Regions from separate parts of the Homo sapiens genome. Here region 1 is linked to region 2. Evidence: promoter capture Hi-C in 16 types of primary human blood cells and fetal thymus (Javierre and others, 2016). All regions are on one chromosome and are shown on one strand. The core of a region is centred on a gene start or on the middle of the fragment in contact, and the rest is flanking DNA. Distances in the headings are between cores, read along the strand shown. Region 1 overlaps OSBPL9 (oxysterol binding protein like 9). Region 2 holds the start of EPS15 (epidermal growth factor receptor pathway substrate 15).

Region 1 (4,872 bases), core at 1,198-3,697, 260 kb after region 2:
ACTTTTACACTGCTGGTGGGAATGTAAACTAGTACAACCACTATGGAAAACAGAATAGAGATGCCGTAAAGAACTGAAAGTAGATCCACCATTTGATTCAGCAGTCCCACTCCTGGGTATTTACTCAGAGGAAAAGAAGTCATTATATGAAAAAGACACATGCACACACATGTTTATAGCAGCACAATTTGCAATTGCAAAAATGGAACTAGCCCAAATGCCCATCAATCAACAAGCAAATAAAGAAAACGTGGCATATATATACTGTGGAATGCTACTCAGCCATAAAAAGGAACGAAATAATGGCATTCACAGCAATCTAGATGGAGTTGGAAACCATTATGCTAAATGAAGAGACTCAGGAATGAAAAACCAAGCTGGTGGCAAGCACCTGTAATCCCAGCTACTCGGGAGGCTGAGGCAGAGAATTGCTTGAACCTGGGAGGTGAGGTTACAGTGAGCCGAGATCACGCCACTGCACTCCAGCCTGGGTGACAGAGCGAGACTCCGTCTCAAAAAGAAAGAATGATACAGTGGACTTTGGGGCTTCAAGGGGAAGGGTGGGAGGGGTGTGAAGGATAAAAGACTACACATTGGATATAGTGTACACTGCTTGGGTGATGGGTGCACCAAAATCTCAGAAATCACCACTGAAGAAGTTATCCATGTAACCAAACACACCACCTGTTCCCCAAAAACCTGTTGAAATTAAAAAAAAAAGAAAAAACCACTAAGACCAATGCATTTAATTATATATATTATACTCAATTTTAAAATGAAACTGTAAGCTAACTCCTGGTCCTAGGTCCTCAGTCCTCTCAGCCTGACTTAGGTGGACCATGCTGGGGGTTGTTGCATCATCTTGTCTTGTACCAGAAAGCAGGACATTAAATTTTGTCTTTCTCCCTTGCAGCATTAGTGACCAGAAGGATCCCAAGGATCGAATGGTTCAGGTTGTGAAATGGTACCTCTCAGCCTTTCATGCGGGAAGGAAAGGATCAGTTGCCAAAAAGCCATACAATCCCATTTTGGGCGAGATTTTTCAGTGTCATTGGACATTACCAAATGATACTGAAGAGAACACAGTGAGTTCTGCATTGACATTTTTAAATTATCTTAATTGTATACTGATTCAAGATTTTATTTAGGGGCAAATAATAATGATGAAAGCAATGATCAAAAGATGGTCACCACCCATAGAAGAAATTGTTGTTAGAGCAGCATAGTTTGAATGTAGTGAGAAGGAGGAAAAAGAGTAGGATGAGATGAGGATGGGGATGTAGAAATCAGATCTTGCAAGGTCTTGTAGACCATAATATAATTTTATGGCTTTTCAGGATCTCATTTTTGTTTTGAGAAGATCAATAGAATGATTTTGTGAAAAATAAATTGAGAAGGGGCAAATATAGAAGCATGAAGACCATTGTGGAGGTTTTGACATTATTCCAAGAGAGACATGGTGATTCAAGCTTTATTTTGGAGGTAGAACTGATTGATGGATTGGGGGAGGTAAGGGAAAGGAGACATCAGAGATGAATCCTTGCATGTGGATGTAAGCAGTGGCAGTGTCATTTACTGATAAGGAAAAGATTGGATTTGGGGAGGGAAAAATCAAAAGCTAATATAAAATATAAAGTTTTAGAGGTCTGTGAAGCTGTCAAGTAGGGAGATGGAATTTAAGAGTGTGGAGTTTAGGGAGAGGTCTGAGATGGGGATGGGGCTTTCAAAGAGTATAGTGTATTTAGATGACATTTTAAAGCTCTAGGATTGGATAAAATTATTTAGGAAGACAGCATAGCTACAGAAGAGTAGGTAACCCAGAACTGGCTCTGAGGCTCCAACAAATTTAGTGGTTGAAGAAAATGACCAGCAGGGAAGACTCAAATGCATGTAAAAAGGCTTTAAGAAGTAAAAAAAACAAAACCATAGCCCACAGCACCTGACACATAATAATCTGTCAGTAAACATGATTCTCCATATATTTCCCTCTCCAAGTGATGCACTACGTATAGTCCATACTGAAGACAGACAAGTATGTGTCTGTTCTTATTCATTTGGCAGACATTGATAAGTGCCTACTCTTGTCAGCCCTGAATGAGGCACACAATCCTTGCCTTTAAGAATGTCTTAGTCTAGTCAGGGAGACTGACACAAAGCAATTAAAATATTGTAGTTAAGTTCTACAATAGAAATATATATATAGGGTGCTTGGTGTGTGTAGAGCGAGCAGAGACCCCAATTACCAGATTCTCTGAAATGTCATTTGTGTTTTCTCATCAAAAGAAAATTATGTTATATTTGCTTGCAGGAACTAGTTTCAGAAGGACCAGTTCCCTGGGTTTCCAAAAACAGTGTAACATTTGTGGCTGAGCAGGTTTCCCATCATCCACCCAGTAAGTTACAGAGCTCCTCTGCAACCTGTGCTCTCAAAACTATTCTGTCTAAAGAGGGTCATTAAAAGCGCCATAGCTGAGGGTACTGTCAGTTGTGTGACTAGCTGTGTGTTTCTTATTCCCTGAAGTGGAAACTCAAGTTGATTTGTTCCTCATATCTTTTCCTTTTGTAAGCTCCAGACTCTTAGCTTCACAAATTAAGTGCGTATAAAAAGAAGGGATTTAGGAAACCAACTTTTAATGCTTCCAGAGTCATCTTATATATAGTAATTTGTGCTGTAGAGACCTCAGCAACTGTGAGACAGTTTATATAAGTGATACGTAGTTTCTACACAGTATATTCCTGGCATACTGCAGATACCAAAACCGAGGATGCTGAAGTCTCTTACATAAAATGGTGTCTTTTATATTCATATAACCTATGCACACCCTCCTGTATACTTGAGTCATCTCTAGATTACTTATAATACCTAATACAATGTAAATGCTATGTAAATAGTTGTTTCACTATTTATTTGTATTATTTTTATTTTGTATTTTTAAATTTTTTCTTTTGAGACAGGGTCTTGCTCTGTCCCCCAGGGTGGAATGCAGTGGCACAATCATAGCTCACTGCAGCCTCCTGGGCTCACATGATCCTCCCACCTCAGCCTCCCAGTTAGCTGGGACTATGGACATGTGCCACCACACCCAACTAATTTTCTTATTTTTTTTTTTTTTTTTTTAGAGTCAGTGTATCACTATGTTGCCCAGGCTGGTCTCAAATTCCTGGCCCCAAGTGATCCTCCCGTCTTGGCCTCCCAAAGTACTGGGATTGCAGGCGTTAGCCACTGAGCCCAGCCTCTGTATATTTTAGATCCACAGTTGGCTGAATCTGTGGGTACAAAACCCATGGATATGGAGGGTCAACTGTACATACCCTCAACATCTGGTTTGTTTAGTGCAGTATTAAAACTGGAAACACTGGCTGGGCCTAGGTTGGGGCTGGAGCCTGGGTGTACTTGCAGACCAGAACAGATAGCCCTTTTGGTTTTAAGCTTCCTGGGTTGGCCACAGCATCATTTCAGGGATGATCCTGCCCACGTGGCTCTGAATGAATGCTTGCATTGGGGAAAAGGGTATAAAAGGCAGGTAGGTACCTCCTGGCGTAATTGGAGGCTGTTTGAAGGGTAAAGGATTTCCCCATGAAGCCAATTATTTCCCCAGGTTATGTGATTTTGGAGAGGTGGCTGTAGGTATATATAATCTACTAATTGAAAATTTCTATTCAGTTTCAGCCTTTTATGCTGAGTGTTTTAACAAGAAGATACAATTCAATGCTCATATCTGGACCAAATCAAAATTCCTTGGGATGTCAATTGGGGTGCACAACATAGGGCAGGGTAAGTGTGTTGGCATTGGGTGGACTACAATGTTATAGGAGAATTTTATGAAAATGGCTAGACTAGATGTCATTGTTAGCAACTAAGCATTGGTATTGGGGGTGAGAGCAAAGGGTGGGGAACTAGATAGGTTATCCCTAAATTGAATGGAGTATCCTGGAGTAACCATCAGCTCGACAAGAAAGCCTTGTGGCCACTTGGCACTACTCATCAGAGATTCTGTCCCTTCTCTCCACAGGCTGTGTCTCATGTCTAGACTATGATGAACATTACATTCTCACATTCCCCAATGGCTATGGAAGGCAAGTGTGTCCATTTCCTCTGATCAGCAGTAGACTCTGCTGTTCCTTGAGACATGCCCCTTCCCCCTCTTCCTCTTAACTGTCAACCTTACCTAAAAACTTTTGATTTTGCAGGTCTATCCTCACAGTGCCCTGGGTGGAATTAGGAGGAGAATGCAATATTAATTGTTCCAAAACAGGCTATAGTGCAAATATCATCTTCCACACTAAACCCTTCTATGGGGGCAAGAAGCACAGAATTACTGCCGAGATTTTGTAGGTATTTTTTCTGCCTTAGAGCTCTTATGCTTTTCTGAAATAACTGCCTTTTGTCTTGAACTACAGCTTCTGGATTAGGAGTGTGAAAGAATGGTTCTGTCTTTGTAAGCGTGTTTCACATTTTATGTGTCATGTCTTTTGCTGAAGTCCCATATCAGAAGAAGACCTAAAACATATATTCAGAGCAGTCAGAGGTCATTGATAGGTTTCCTTCCTAAAAACCTGACTTGCAATGTTGAACTAAAAGAGGCCTTCCTAGGTTGCCTAGCTAAACCAGATTATGGATCCCTAATTTATTCTTGCCAGATTGAATGATGAGCTGGTCCTTACAGCAGACTTTGTGACCCCTGCAGCACTGCCTCCTGGTCCTCACAGCTATCCCTTTTTCTGTGCCTTTGCTGGGGAAAAACAGTAACCATCACATTTTGCACGCATCTGGCTTGCTTCCACTTGACACTCTTGGGTCACGTGCAGATGACTGTGCCAGTCAGTGGAAAGTCTATAGTGATGGCACCATGACTCTCTCTGCCTCTGGAA
Region 2 (4,819 bases), core at 2,187-4,686:
AATCGTAGATTCACCACTTACTAGCTTACTTACTAGCTTCTCTAATTTGTAAAACATATCGTTAGATTCTAAGTGTAGTAAAATTCCTGGCATATAGTAATTCCCAAAGGGAAGTTAACAGTATTATTATTATTAGGGATATGGGCGTTAGGGAGTAAAACTGACTATTGGAAACTTTTTTTTTTTAAGTATTACATGCTTTTTTTCTAATCTACCAACAGAAGCAAAAATCAAGATCTTTCTCCCTCAGGTTTTACTTCTCATTGACAAGAAGTAAACAGAACACCTAGTAAAGACAACTGAATTAGAAAACATTTAAGGCTGTAAAGCACTAAAGAACCCAGAGAAAGTCCACTAGGTCTATAAATCATAGAACACTGTCTATAAAACAGGATCTTAAAAGTTGGAAAGGTCCTTAGATCAGCTAATTCAAACTCCTCTAGCAGAAATAAGTTCCAGGTTTTGTCTCCAAGGTCAAAGAATTGTTAACTATTTTTGTTCATGAGTATATATATCCTCAGTACCTAGAGTAATTCCTAGCACATACTGAATGCTCAGCAAATGTTTGTTGAGTCTCTTTTAAAGTTAAGAAAACTGAGGCCTGGATATTTAACCCAAACCCATACAGTTAGCTGTGGCCAAAGCAGAACTGGAACTAACATTTTGGTACTCTAGCATTCTATCATCTCTAGAAGCTAGACTATAATAATTTAGATAATTTATTTTGGTGGCTGGGGAGTTGAAGGGTTGGTTGGCAAGCTTGGAAAAAGGAAGGAAGGCATAAGCTAAAACATTTTTCACATTTTTTCCCCAAACTCAGTTTTGCTTAATTGGTAAAGGCAAGAAATTATAAACACGATAATCCCAGTACAATGTCTAGTACATAATAGGTACTATAAAAATATTTGCTGAATGAAAATCATCAACATATGAACAGAAGCAGAAATTAACTTGAGCATGTTTAATCTCCATAACTGTTATAGAACCCTTTAGAGCTTTCAGTCATTCCTACAACAGTTATTAATTACTTTCTTCCAGATAGGTACCATGGGAGAAAGATGGATTAAAAGATGTCCCTGCCCTGAATGAGCTCTCACTTGAGTATGCCTATGTCTAAATGTGTGTGCTGGGAGAGTGGGCAGGGTGGGGGGAACAGAGGATGACAAACGGGTCAGTAATGAATGTGAAACCAGGCTGCATTGTTATCTTAGTGTATTGGGCTCAGGCAGTTATAAAAAAATTAAATTAAATTTAAAAACCACAAATCTGCAAAGTTTTGAAGTAACAAGGAGGCACATTAGGGTATACTAGCAACTGGAAATGTTATTTTTTCGTGTGCCTTCGTAATCCCTCTTATTGCCTCTTCATGTTTTAAAATCAGAATATTCTGAATTTACTTATTTGAATTATCAATAAAAATTAACCACCAATGTATATTATCTCATATGTGAGGCACTGAAGGATAATAGCTACTACTGATTCCGTACTTACTGTGTACACATTAATACCTAAATATATAACCCAAGAACATATGTAAATTTTTTAAATGGCTATAAAACTGACAGAGCTTGAAGCAATTCTCCAGAGATGAATGATGTAAATAGAAGCTAAAAACATGGTATTACCCAGGGAGAGAATAAAGTATGCACACAACTGAGAAGCAATTTTACGGAAGTCTTTAAGAGCACAAAATCTTCAAGGGAAAACTCCTGCCAGAATTGGCCAACAGAGCCAGAAAACAACAGCCTGCCAACAGGGATCTTGTTTAATGCAAGTCACTAACTAGACTCACAGAAAGTGAATACCTAAAAGTCAGTGCTGTAGTTGTTCAAATTTGAGTTTTGGGAGGACCCTTCCAAACATACATAACCAAGACTAAACCACCACATTCCATGTTAAAGGGTTCTCTGCTTGTCAGAACAGGACAACCACCACCACCATCAAAAAAACTGGGAAATAGACTTTCCTTATGACACTTAGAATTCCTGCAAACACGGGTTAGTTATTTTACATGAAGCATGTACGTGACTCCTGGTTTCTGAGAAAACATTTTTTTCTCTCTATCCTACAGTGCTAGGCAAAGCACCCCAAAGCCTCTTGATTTTAAACACAGAAAACTCCACTGCCGAAATGTTTGCCCTATCCCAGCGCTAAAGCCTTAGAAGCACCGACGAATCTAGGCCAAGGAGTACAAGATGGCAGTGAGATACCACAATGCAGGCAAGGAAGACGGGATGGGCCCCAATCGGGAAGCACGCGCCACCAGCTCTGGAGAGAACCGTCTGAGGAGACGCGGGGGAGAGTTTGGGTCACAGGAGCAGGAAGGAACTGGCAGGTGTCTGTCACCTTATCATCCCGGACACCATGTTTACATTGTAATTGGCTTCTTTACAGAGAGGGAGGGACCAGGTTCCCAGTGTGAGTGATGTTTAGAGGTTTTCTGAGAAGCACAAGGACTGGACTTTGACAGGAAGCAACGAGGCAAGAGGGAAGCTCGAGAACAGGTTTTGCTGAGGATTCCCCCCAAGAAAAGTGCTCCCCGGGAGGCCGTTCCTGGCACCAAGACTGGCGGAGCCACCACACCCGTTAAAGGGATCCACCTGGACAGCGATCAGGCGTGAGCCCCCCGAGGGGAAGTTGAAGTGGAAGCAGACGTGGGTGGCAAAAGGCTGCATTGGGGGTCTGACCCAGAAGGAAACCTGATCAGGAGGGGGGAGAGGCTGAACGGAGGAAGGGGCCGGCAGAGTGGGTAGTTGAGTAGGATGAGACTTCTTTGGAGGCGAGGCTAACTACATTAAACTCTGGGAAGGGAGGGCTTCCGTCGGACCCTGGGAGAAAGGCAGGTCTGGAGAGGAAAGACTGGCTTGGGGGGCCTGCGCGTCCGGCTCTGGAAGGCAACTCCTACTGGGGGCGGCGCGCAGCCGGCCTGGCGGGCGAGCCTCGTGCGGCCCGGGGGTGCGGCCGGCCCGCGCGAGCTCAACAGGAGCTCACCTGGGATGCGTGCGGCCCTGTGGGAGGAAACTTCCTGGGTAGGTGAAAGCTGCCCCGCGGGAGCCGGCCCGGCACCGGCAGAGCGCGGCCGGGTCACAGTCCACTCGGCAGCGGCGCGGAGGGCGGCGAGGGCCGCGCGGGGCGGGGCAGGAGGCGCCCGACGACCCTGGGCGAGGTCGCGGCGGCCGCAGGGGGGCTCCGGCTCCGGAGGGCGCCCTCCCGCAGTCGCACCCGCTTTCCCTCACACACACCGGCCGCCCGGCCCACAAGCCAAGAAGCTGCCTGCTTGGCCCACAAGCCAAGAAGTCGGCGAAGCTGAGGGCGGTGGGGGAGGGGGCACCGGCCGGCCAAGCCCGGCGGACGGGCGTGTGGCGTTACCTGTGTCAGAGAGAGCTGGGCCGCCGCAGCCATGGTGTTTCCATCATGCAAGGGAGGGGAAGGAAGACGGGCTGACTGGGGCTCGGGGCGGGGAGGAGGCGGAGGGAGCGGCCGCAGGCGAGGCCGGGGCGGGCGGGCGGGCGTCTCCCCTAACTTCCACAACTTCCCTCCCCACGCCCGCCCCGCCCCGCCTGGCCCCGCCCGCCTGCCCGCCCGCCGGAGCCGGCCGCGGCGCCGCCCAAACCCTGGCGCCGGAGTCTCGGCCACCGGACCAGAGCCTGCCCCCGGGGCCGCCTTGGAAAACCCGGCGCGGACATAAAATTAAAGCGGACGGGCTGCGGAGGCGACTGCAGATTGACCTGTGAACTTCAGACAGGCCACCTACCTACGCTGAGCTCCTGCTTCTGAAAAATGGGGGAAATTGTAACTAGAGGCCCAGTTACTTACAAAGACTAAATGAGATAATGATAGAAAATAATAATGGCACTTTATATATGCCAGGCTCTGTACTAGACTCTTATTTTTTGAATTGTATGAATGAAGGAACTGAAACACAAATAAGTGTCTTACTAAGGTCATACAGCTAATTATATAGCTGAATTAGAATCCAAGTCTAACTGTAAATATTTAACCATCTGCTAGTATATTGGAAAAGAAGACATTAAGTCATTCCCTCCCACAGCCAAAATCCATTTGGAAAGGGGAAGCAAAAATGTATTTGCCTGGTGCCTGTCACATTTAGATTGTTTAACAAGGGAACGCTGGTGCCTGTAGCACTCCTAGCTTCTCCCATCATCCACTTAGCAAACTCCTCCTTCTTTCTCAGGACATAATTCAAGTTTCACCTCCTTTGCAAAGTATCTTTTTCTCTTCCTTATGTCAGAGTTACACACTCTCCTTTATAACCTTTCTTCTCTACCTTGTGAAGTCATCACCCTAATGACAGTTTACACCTATCTATCCCTCTAGATTAAGAGCTCCTCAATGGCAAGAACTGTTTTCAATATATTTCTATATCGTCAGACCCTAGCATTACAGTGCATGCTCAGTAAAGGCCTTCGTTCCTGCCTATATTAAACATAACACATCCTACACCTTCTGATGCTGCCAACCTTCAGTTGGAATACCCAGTTACTTGAAATTCATCTTCAAAGTCTCAGAGTATATACCACCTACTTCAAGAAGCCTTCTAGGAACTCCACACCCCACCTCTAAGTTGTTCTGATGTGACCGTTTTTATACTCTGCCTTATCTGTAAGCGTTAGTTGAGGGTTTGTCTCCACCTCACTGCACTGTAAAATCCTTGAGGACAAGGGGCTGACTCACTGCTTTATCTCCCTCATAGTTTAGCCTACCACAGAGGCCTCAATAAATGTATTTGCCCGAATTGGTCTTAATTTCTTAGTCACGATGGCTTCCCATTACAACAAACCACAACTCTATCAGGCCT

The links. The method cuts DNA at HindIII sites, captures the fragments that hold promoters and counts their contacts. A CHiCAGO score of 5 or more calls a contact.
Region 1: a fragment that was not itself captured here is called in contact with the fragment with the promoter of EPS15 in region 2 in 4 of 17 cell types (endothelial precursors, neutrophils, M1 macrophages and 1 more); the score reaches 6.6 in endothelial precursors.

What each region holds. Positions count from the first base shown.
Region 1 is chr1:51,780,251-51,785,122 of GRCh38, forward strand. OSBPL9 (oxysterol binding protein like 9) reads left to right here. Exons shown (of 24, transcript NM_024586.6): 16 at 914-1,085; 17 at 2,309-2,393; 18 at 3,665-3,775; 19 at 4,014-4,077; 20 at 4,192-4,332. Among named protein-coding and RNA genes, the nearest start is that of MIR761, 54 kb to the right of the region's middle. The HindIII fragment of the contact is 1,961 bases long and covers 1,468-3,428 here.
Region 2 is chr1:51,515,830-51,520,648 of GRCh38, forward strand. EPS15 (epidermal growth factor receptor pathway substrate 15) reads right to left here and starts at 3,437. Exons shown (of 25, transcript NM_001981.3): 1 at 3,370-3,437. The coding sequence starts at 3,402. It overlaps EPS15-AS1 (EPS15 antisense RNA 1), which reads left to right and starts at 2,443. Exons shown (of 5, transcript NR_183651.1): 1 at 2,443-2,617. It also overlaps a transcript of OSBPL9 not described here. RefSeq lists an enhancer at 2,692-3,620 and silencers at 2,851-3,320, 3,471-3,660. The HindIII fragment of the contact is 8,390 bases long and covers 758-4,819 here.